3 separate regions of the Homo sapiens genome follow, and all the other regions are linked to region 2. Evidence: promoter capture Hi-C in 16 types of primary human blood cells and fetal thymus (Javierre and others, 2016). All regions are on one chromosome and are shown on one strand. The core of a region is centred on a gene start or on the middle of the fragment in contact, and the rest is flanking DNA. Distances in the headings are between cores, read along the strand shown. Region 1 holds the start of KIF14 (kinesin family member 14). Region 2 holds the start of NEK7 (NIMA related kinase 7). Region 3 holds the start of DDX59 (DEAD-box helicase 59).

The links. Contacts are between HindIII fragments. The CHiCAGO score rates a contact against its expected background, and 5 or more counts as called.
Region 1: a contact is called between the fragment with the promoter of KIF14 here and the fragment with the promoter of NEK7 in region 2, in 1 of 17 cell types (fetal thymus). The highest score is 6.5, in fetal thymus.
Region 3: the fragment with the promoter of DDX59 here is called in contact with the fragment with the promoter of NEK7 in region 2 in 3 of 17 cell types (total B cells, fetal thymus and erythroblasts); the score reaches 8.4 in total B cells.

What each region holds. Positions count from the first base shown.
Region 1 is chr1:200,619,236-200,622,021 of GRCh38, forward strand. It overlaps KIF14 (kinesin family member 14), which reads right to left and starts at 1,516. Exons shown (of 30, transcript NM_014875.3): 1 at 1,176-1,516. RefSeq lists an enhancer at 784-1,285 and a silencer at 1,454-1,603. The HindIII fragment of the contact is 3,652 bases long and covers 1-2,786 here.
Region 2 is chr1:198,155,717-198,158,416 of GRCh38, forward strand. It overlaps NEK7 (NIMA related kinase 7), which reads left to right and starts at 1,282. Exons shown (of 10, transcript NM_133494.3): 1 at 1,282-1,560. RefSeq lists enhancers at 468-527, 1,958-2,007 and a silencer at 1,118-1,717. The HindIII fragment of the contact is 2,805 bases long and covers 390-2,700 here.
Region 3 is chr1:200,668,657-200,671,356 of GRCh38, forward strand. It overlaps DDX59 (DEAD-box helicase 59), which reads right to left and starts at 1,251. Exons shown (of 8, transcript NM_001031725.6): 1 at 1,111-1,251. DDX59-AS1 (DDX59 antisense RNA 1) reads left to right here and starts at 851. Exons shown (of 3, transcript NR_110787.1): 1 at 851-966. RefSeq lists a silencer at 665-1,404. The HindIII fragment of the contact is 3,439 bases long and covers 1,091-2,700 here.

The DNA.
Region 1 (2,786 bases), core at 266-2,765, 2.5 Mb after region 2:
TAAAGGAAACCCTAGCACCTAAATCAGAGTGTGGAGCAAAGTATTTTTATAAATACCTGCTACACGTATTTTTTTTTTTTGCCAATGTTCCATAAGAAGGTTTATTTTATTTTATTTTTATAAAAATATTTTTTTTGAGATGGAGTCTTGCTCTGTCACCAGGCTGGAGTGCAGTGGCACGACCTTGGCTTGCTGCAACCTCCTCCTCCTGTATTCAAGCAAATCTCCTGCCTTAGCCTCCCAAGTAGCTGGGACTACAGGCGCCCACCACCATGCCCAGCTAATTTTTGTATTTTTAGTAGAGACGGGGTTTCACCATGTTGGCCAGGATGGTCTCGATATCTTGACCTTGTGATCCGCCCGCCTCGGCCTCCCAAAGTGCTGGGATTACAGGCGTGAGCCACCGCGTCCGGCCCATGTATGTTGAATACAGGAATGCCTATAGAGAAGATTGAATTGATTGGTGTCACGAGGCAGATTATTCCCAAGTACCACAGGCAGTAAGTACGATAAGTACTGTAAATTAATTGTGTTGAGAAAAACCATGCAAGATTAGATAAACAGACAACCTGCCCTTTAGCAGTAAGACAACAAATTAGACAGAGGTGTATGTAAATATACAGCAACAATATCTATCAGGTATTAACGTTTTAAAGAAAGGGAACAGCAGTGACAGCTAAGAGACCTGGCTTTTAGTCAGCTTTGTATCCAACTCCTTACAAGGATGTAAACAAGACTTTAAATTTGCATGCCGGGTTCTAACCTGTAAAATGACACTGGTTCAAACTATTGCAAAGATTATTGCTAGCGAGGAACAAATTAATGGAAGTTCATTTTTAAATGAGGCTTTTAAATTTTTACATAAATAACAGTCATTACAAAAAAAATTCGTCAGCTTATAAGCATCTCCCATCAACGTTTCAACTCAAAATACAGAATTTTCCTGTTATGAAATGAATTTAAAGGCAAAAAGAAGATTCTGGAAATTCTCTTGCAACTAAAAACCATTTGCGATTTGCACAAATCAATACGGTTTCTGTTTGAGGAGTTTCGCCATCAGATTTTAAAGAGGACTGGAAGGAATACAAGGAAAATAAGCACAATCCAAACCAAAACATCCGGTGATTCTGTTCTTTCTCTGCTAGTCATTACCAGGGGCTATGACTAAGAATTACCTCTTAATGCCAACCGACTCGGGGAGACTCGGGGAGAAGCCCACGGGCCGAGAGGCCCTGAAGTCCGGCTTCCCGGTCCCAGCAGAGACGCTGCCTTGCGCCCTTCGTTCGGGGACCCCTTCGCCGCCGACCTGGAATGCTGAGGAACTGAATGGGGGACTGGAGCTAAGACCACCCGCCCGCAGAGCAGTGGTCGCCTGTAGGGAAAGCGTCCGCACGCCCTCCCCAGTGCCGAAACTTCGCCCCTCCGCAGGGTCCGGCACCTTGGGGACCCCCTCGACACAGTCCCCACGCCACTCACCACCTCCAGCGCCGGCTCCCCAGAAGGCCGCAATTTGAATGGGCGCCCCGCCTTCTGATTGGCTGCTGGGCGTCGCGTCGGGTGCCGCGCCTTTGCTTCCACCCGCCCCCCGGAAGTGCCGGTGGTTGGGCTCCGGTAGCCGTCTCTGAATGCTGGACTCGCCCCACCCTCATCTCCCAGGCAACGCTCCCTCCCCTCCTCGGGTTCTGCTAAAGCGTGGAGCTTGGCCCCCTTTAAATCCGACCAGAGGAAGGGGCGGCGGTCGCGGGCGCAGCGGGCCCCTCGTTGAAGTGGGTGTCAAACGAAAAGCATGACAGTGACACTCTTGTCGGTCTTTAATCTAAAAGAAGCCATTACATCGAAGACTTCACATTGTAAATGGATATTTGCCCCCAAGTTAATCATAATAATTAACTTTTCTAGTGTTTCCTATGCAAGGCGTTCACGTAGGAAATATGCTAAATGTCTTATATGAATTTTTAAACAGTCCTGAAAATCTTGTGAGATAAATATTAATGTTATCCCTCGTTTACAGATGAGGAACTGAGGTTTAGAGTTAAACTTGTGAAAGATCAGACAATTAGCAGTGGCATAACTAGAACTTGAAGGTTCTTGCCGCCGTACAATGTAACTCCGTTTCAGTAAAAGTTCCCTTTTTTTAATTTTTTTTTTCTTTTTTGAGACGGAGTCTCGCTCTGCAGCCCAGGCTGGAGTGCAGTGGCCCCTGCAACCTCCGCCTCCCTGGTTCAAGCGATTCTCCTGCCTCAGCCTCTGGAGTAGCTGGGATTACAGGCGCGCACCACCACGCCCAGCTAATTTTTGTATTTTTAGTAGAGACGGGGTTTCACCATATTGGCCAGGCTGGTCTCGAATTCCTGACCTTGTAAGCTGCCAGGCGTGAGCCACTGCGCCGCCCAGCCCCCATAAGATTTTGAAATCTGAAAAAATATTACAAATACATTCTGAAAAATAACCAAATAAATGAGAAAGACTAGATAAATAGATATTGTAAAGCAACAATGTTTTTTAAACAGGCAAAAAGTACAGAGATATTGAAGAAGTATTCACTGAGATAGAGACCATAAGTAGCTCCAATTATATAGACCAACCAAACAGATGATAAAGTACTCATTCTAAATCTTACTCTAAAAATCATTCTAAAACTCAATTAAAATTAAGGTATAAGGAAACTATCAGAAAATAGAATATAATATTTATCAGGGCCAGGTGCGGTGGCTCACGCCTGTAATCTTAGCACTTTGGGAGACCAAGGCAGGCGGATCACTTGCAGTCAGGAGTTTAAAACCAGC
Region 2 (2,700 bases), core at 32-2,531:
CCTCGGGTTCAAGCGATTCTTTTGCCTCAGCCTCCCCAGTAGCTGGGATTATAGACTCCTGCCACCACGCTCGGCTAGTTTTTGTATTTTTAGTAGAGACAGGGTTTCGCCATGTTGGCCAGGCTGGTCTCGAACTCCTGACCTCAGGTGATCACCCCCCCCCCCACTTGGCCTCCCAAAATGCTAGGCTTACAGCCATGAGCCACTGCGCCCGGCCATTTTTCTTTTTAAAAATAAACTTTCCAGATCTTAATTTCATGGCTTTAACATTTTAAATGTTTGAGGTATAATCTACTCATTCTTGGCTCTAATCTTTTTGTCAGGGAAGTTAAACTAGTGAGAGACCTATGAACAACAGCAACAATTTAATGAGCACGTCTTATATGCCAAGCTTTGTGGTTAAGCACTTTGCTTTATCTCACTTAATTCTAACTATGGTCCTAGAGGTTGGTATTACAACTAATCTCCTTTTACAGAGAGTTACTGAGACTTGGAGAGGTTAAATAACTTGCAGCCAGGTCACAAAATTAATCACTGAGTTGAGACGACAATTAAGGTATGGCCGACTCCATACTGCCTCCTAGCCGTCTCCTCGAGTAGTTCATGCCCTGTTAACTTAAGTCGTGAAGCTGCTGGTGTCAAAGCATTCCTTTTGCAGTTTCGTGTACTAGGGTTCTGGGTGATTTTGCACATATTTATTTCAAAGATCCTCCGTACCACACCAGGGAGTTTACCTTCTGGAATGTTGTTGAAGCCCCTGTCCTCTATGCTGGGACACTTTCATGCAACGTTTGCTTAGCCAGACTCAGGAAAACGCCTTTTTTTTTTTTTCTCATTTCCCTGCACTCCACATTAAACACAGAGGTAGTTTAAATCACCTGGTAAAAGAAGATGGGATCACAAACGCTGTGGTCCAGAAGGGAACATCAGTAAGTCGGTTCACCGCTTGCAAGTGGGGGCACTTACATATAAATGAAGAAAAAACAAGTTCTTAAAAAGCAGCCGACCCTGGGTTCTTAAAAAGCAGCCGGGGAAGAGGGCTCAGGGGACCGGACGCGGTGCCCCGCACCACGCTAGGCCTGACAACCGGAAGAGAGGGGCCAGGAGGGGCTCCTCCAGAGCGACTTCGGCTCCAGTAGGGAAACCGCCGAGGCTCCCCCAGCTCCAGGGAGCGCCGGGGACGCAGGCGGGAAGCCTCCATCGGGCAGCCGGCCTGGACTCACGACGCGGGGTGGGGCCGGCGCCCGCCCCGCCCCTCTCCTCGGGGATGCCGGGATGTTTACACTCCTGACAGCGGCGGCAGCAGGAGGAGGATCGGGAGTCGCGGGAGGATGGGCCGCCGCTAGGCTCGCACTCCGGACGCGCCTCGCAGTGCGCAGGGTGGGTGCCCCGCGCCTGCAGCGTCCGCCGGGGCGGCGCGGCGGGAGGTGGCCGACAGGCTCCGGGCCTCGCAGCCTCAGCCCCCGGCCCAGCGCGCTTTCCGACGGCGGCGCCGCGCCGAGCCACCCGCCCGCCCAAGGTCTCTCGCGGGCGGGAGAACGGAAAACTCCCAACTTCCTGGTGAGTCGCTGCCCAGGGTTCAGGCGCCCGGACCGGGCAGCTCCTGCCGGGAGGGGCCGCCTGCGGGAGTCGGGCCGGGAGAGGGAGGTCGGGACCGCGCGGGGCGGCCTCCGGGATACCCTCGCTCGGGGTAGGTGGGGCGGGGCGCGCTGCGCTCGAGGCGGATGGGGGTTTCGGTCTTGTTCGTTGGCAGCGGTGGGAGGGGGCGGCAGGAAACTTCATACCTGGCCCCGGCTCTAGAGGCCCGAGGCCGCCAAGGGCGCCGCGGTAACTAAGAAACTCCGTGGCCACGGCGGCGGCGGCAACAGGTCTTTGGTTTCGGGACCCGAGGAACTTAAGCGAAGTCCCGCCTTCCGGCGGATGCTCATTGGCGACGTCGGTTATTTATCTCTCGCGGATTGGTGAAGTCCGTCTGTCAGGATTCGGCAGCAGCCCGACTTAGGAAAGTGAAGTGCGCTGGGAGAGAGTGGGTGGTGGGAGCCGGCAGATAGGGGAGAATCCGAAGTGGCTTCAGAAGTACAGGGAGCGTGAGAGGTCTGTCGGAGAATGAACTTGGGAGAGACTCGGGATTACAAAATGTCGGAGAGAGGGATTGCGAGGCAATAGCGAACATTGCTGGTGATGGTGGCAATGGAAAAGAAATTGAAAACTGAGGCCAAAGTCAGAGAAGGGTAGCCAAAGGAAAACAGAGAAAAGTGACAAGACCGTATGACCGCAGAACAGTGTAAGGAAGCGAGCACAACCTAGAGGATGCTGCCTTGAGAGCTAAAGAACTTCTGTTGCCTCTGTTACACTGTAGGCCTTCACTCCTAAAACCGCAGCATCCTCTATTTAGTCTTGCACTGGGAGCGTACTGGGGTCGCGGAGAGATGATGTATCGTGTTCTCACCTTGCTGTAGTCCTCACTGGGGAGAAATGCTAAAAAATATACTTAGTTTACAGTAAGATACATGTTACTGTCCTTGCGCAATTCTGGTGACTGAACTGAAAATCAGAAATACACAGAAATAAAATGATTATTCTCCTTTGAGGTTACTGAGCTCAAGGATGCAATTGAAAACACCACATTTCCATAGTTTGTAGAGCCTAATGTACCCATCATAATGGGAACCACTGTTTCTAGTTCCTCCTCCAAGGAAT
Region 3 (2,700 bases), core at 1-2,500, 2.5 Mb after region 2:
TTGGTGAGAATTCCCATCTCCCCTTGTTTTCCCTCCTTCCTTCCCAGATCCAGGAGATAATCAACTAAGAGCCAGGCACCCTTTTAAGTCCAATATAAAACAATTTACAACCTGCTCTCTCTAAAGTCTATCTAAGAGCTTCCTCTGCACAATAAAACTTGGTCTCCACAATCCTTTATCTCTAGCCTGAACATTCCTTTTTATGGATCCCAGGTCTTTAGATAACCTCAACCAGATAACGTTTACATTTACCGATTGAGTTGCCCCGCCTTTCTAAACTAAACCAATGTATTTCTTAAATGTATTTGATGTCTCACGCCTTCCTAAAATAGATAAAACCAAGCTGTACCCCAATTTCCTTGGGCACATGTTCTCAGGACCTCCTGAGGACTGTCACTGGCCATGGTCACTTGAATCTGGCTCAAAATAAATCTCTTCAAATATTTTTCAGAGTTTGATTCTTTTCATCAACCCATATCTATACCTTTTTACACCAAAAACATGTCTTTGCAAAATTACAGTTATTGGGAATAAGGCTTTTAACCTAATCTGGGGACTATCAAATATACTAATAAATATTTTTCTTAAAAAAATTCTTTGTTTAAACTGCCAGATTCCAACTTCCAGAAAAATTCCAACAGAAATGCAACCGAGGGTCTAGAATTACTATCCTAAATCTCCGAAAATGTACAGGGGGTGGCGGGCGGGGCAGGGACGGCTCTAGGTGAGCAGGAAAAAGCTTGGAACTCAGTCTTCCAATGGCGAAAGGGAACGTGCTCCTGCTGGGCGGGACGGCGGACGGCTGGCGGCGGCGCGGCCTCCAATTCTCGCCAACGCGCCCCGCACCCCCGTGCACTGGCGGGCCCTCCCCTCGGGCGTTGCCTCCCACCCACGCCCGGCGGCACCGCACCCCGAGGCGCTTCACGTCACGGAGCTGCTAGGAGACGGGCGGGGCTCCGGTTCCGGGTAGAGGCCTGGGACACGGGGAACTGTAAGGATGGGAGGAAGGCCGCGCAGGGGCACCAGTTCTGCCGCCGCGGCCTAGCGCCCCAGGTCCCGGAGAAGGGGCACCAGGGCGGCCAGGGGCCCAAGCTTCCGGGGCACGCTCACCCGCGCAGGACTGAGGCCGCGTCCGCTCCCGCTCCCGCTCGGGCCGTCTCCCCCTTCCAGGCTCCAGGCCAGGCTTCCGCCCGACAAGCCCTGACCCGCTCGTCAGGACTGCGGCCCGGGGTTGGTGGTGCGGAGCGGAGCGGAGCGGAGCGTAGAGTAGAATCCACTTCCCCGGGTTTTGGGAGGGGGCCGCAGCCCGCTTTCCGGGCGGCGGGGAGGCGGGGCCACCGCGGGGGCGGAGCTCGGCTGGGAGCCGGCAGTGGCTTGGGAGGGAGGGAGGGAGAAGGAGAGGGGCGGGAAGGCTCCTCGCGTTTTCCACGCCCCCGCCCAGCTCTGGGCTGGTGGTAAATCTCGGAACTGGTCCGGGCTGGGCGAGTTCTGGACGGAGGGGCACGTTTGGGAATCCTCTTGGAAGAATTTACGTAATCGAATGGGCTGGGACTGGTGGAAAAGAGTTGGACCGTCCGGAAAGAAGCAGGAGGGCGGCGCGGGGGCCTGGCACCCTTAGAAAGTGGGAAGTGTGAGTGTAAAAGGGAGGGGCACTTCTGCCCGTTGGGCCCAAAAACCCTTTTCTGGCTTTAGCTAGTAGAGCCACTCAAAATTTAAACGGAGTCAGCTTGATGTGGCATATATGATAAGCTGGATAATATTTCCTGCACCACCGCACCCCTCCCCCCACCCCAACACCAACAAGAAAATAACACAAGTCACGGTTCTTGTTCCTTGTGGGCTGACATTTCCCTGTTTTGCCAACCTCTGGAGCCACGTGTCCCAAGCAGCTTGTAGTTGAGAAGTGATGGGGGAGAGGAGACAGCACGGGAGAGGAAGGAGGGAAGCCAGCTTATATTCAGGTGCCTTAAGTATTTAAAAATATTTTCAGTGTAATAGTCGATGCATTCAAAAGAGCATATTTACCAAATATGTAAAATTTAAAGTATGCTAATGAAACTATCACTCCACCACGTTATCAGTATTTAGCATGTATCTATGCATCTCCAGGATTCTACTCCTGGCCTCTTAGCTCACCACCACTATCTTCAGTTTTGTCCCTCTTTGCCATTTTTAGTGGTTTTATCATATTTGGATGCATTCCTGTGTATTGGTGTATTTTTCTTCTTTTTGAGCTTTATAAAAATACATATAGCCTGGAATTCGCTTTTTATCACTCAACATTTGTTTTTTTGGTTCATCCAAGTTGTTACGTGTAGTAACAGAACATTTATTTCTTACTGCCTAGTCAAAAGGAAGTTTTCTCCTGTCAGGAATGTATTCAATACTGTAGCGGATAGGATTATAAATGCACTTTAAGTATTTTCTTTATTGATGGGAACCACACAGACTAAATGTATCAGACTTCCCAAGTTCGTAGGTCACATACCTATAACAGAACTCTTTTCCTGGGTTTTGTGACATTTCTAATTGTTGTAATTTCTTTTGCCATTATAAAAATTAGTCACTTTTGAACCTAATTTGTATTCATCATTCTGAATCTTTTTCTTTAAAAGCCTCCTCTTTTCCAATTATATAAGCTCATACCCCATAAAACCTGAATCTGCCCCTAGTAATTACTAATAAGGCTAGTAGGAGCAT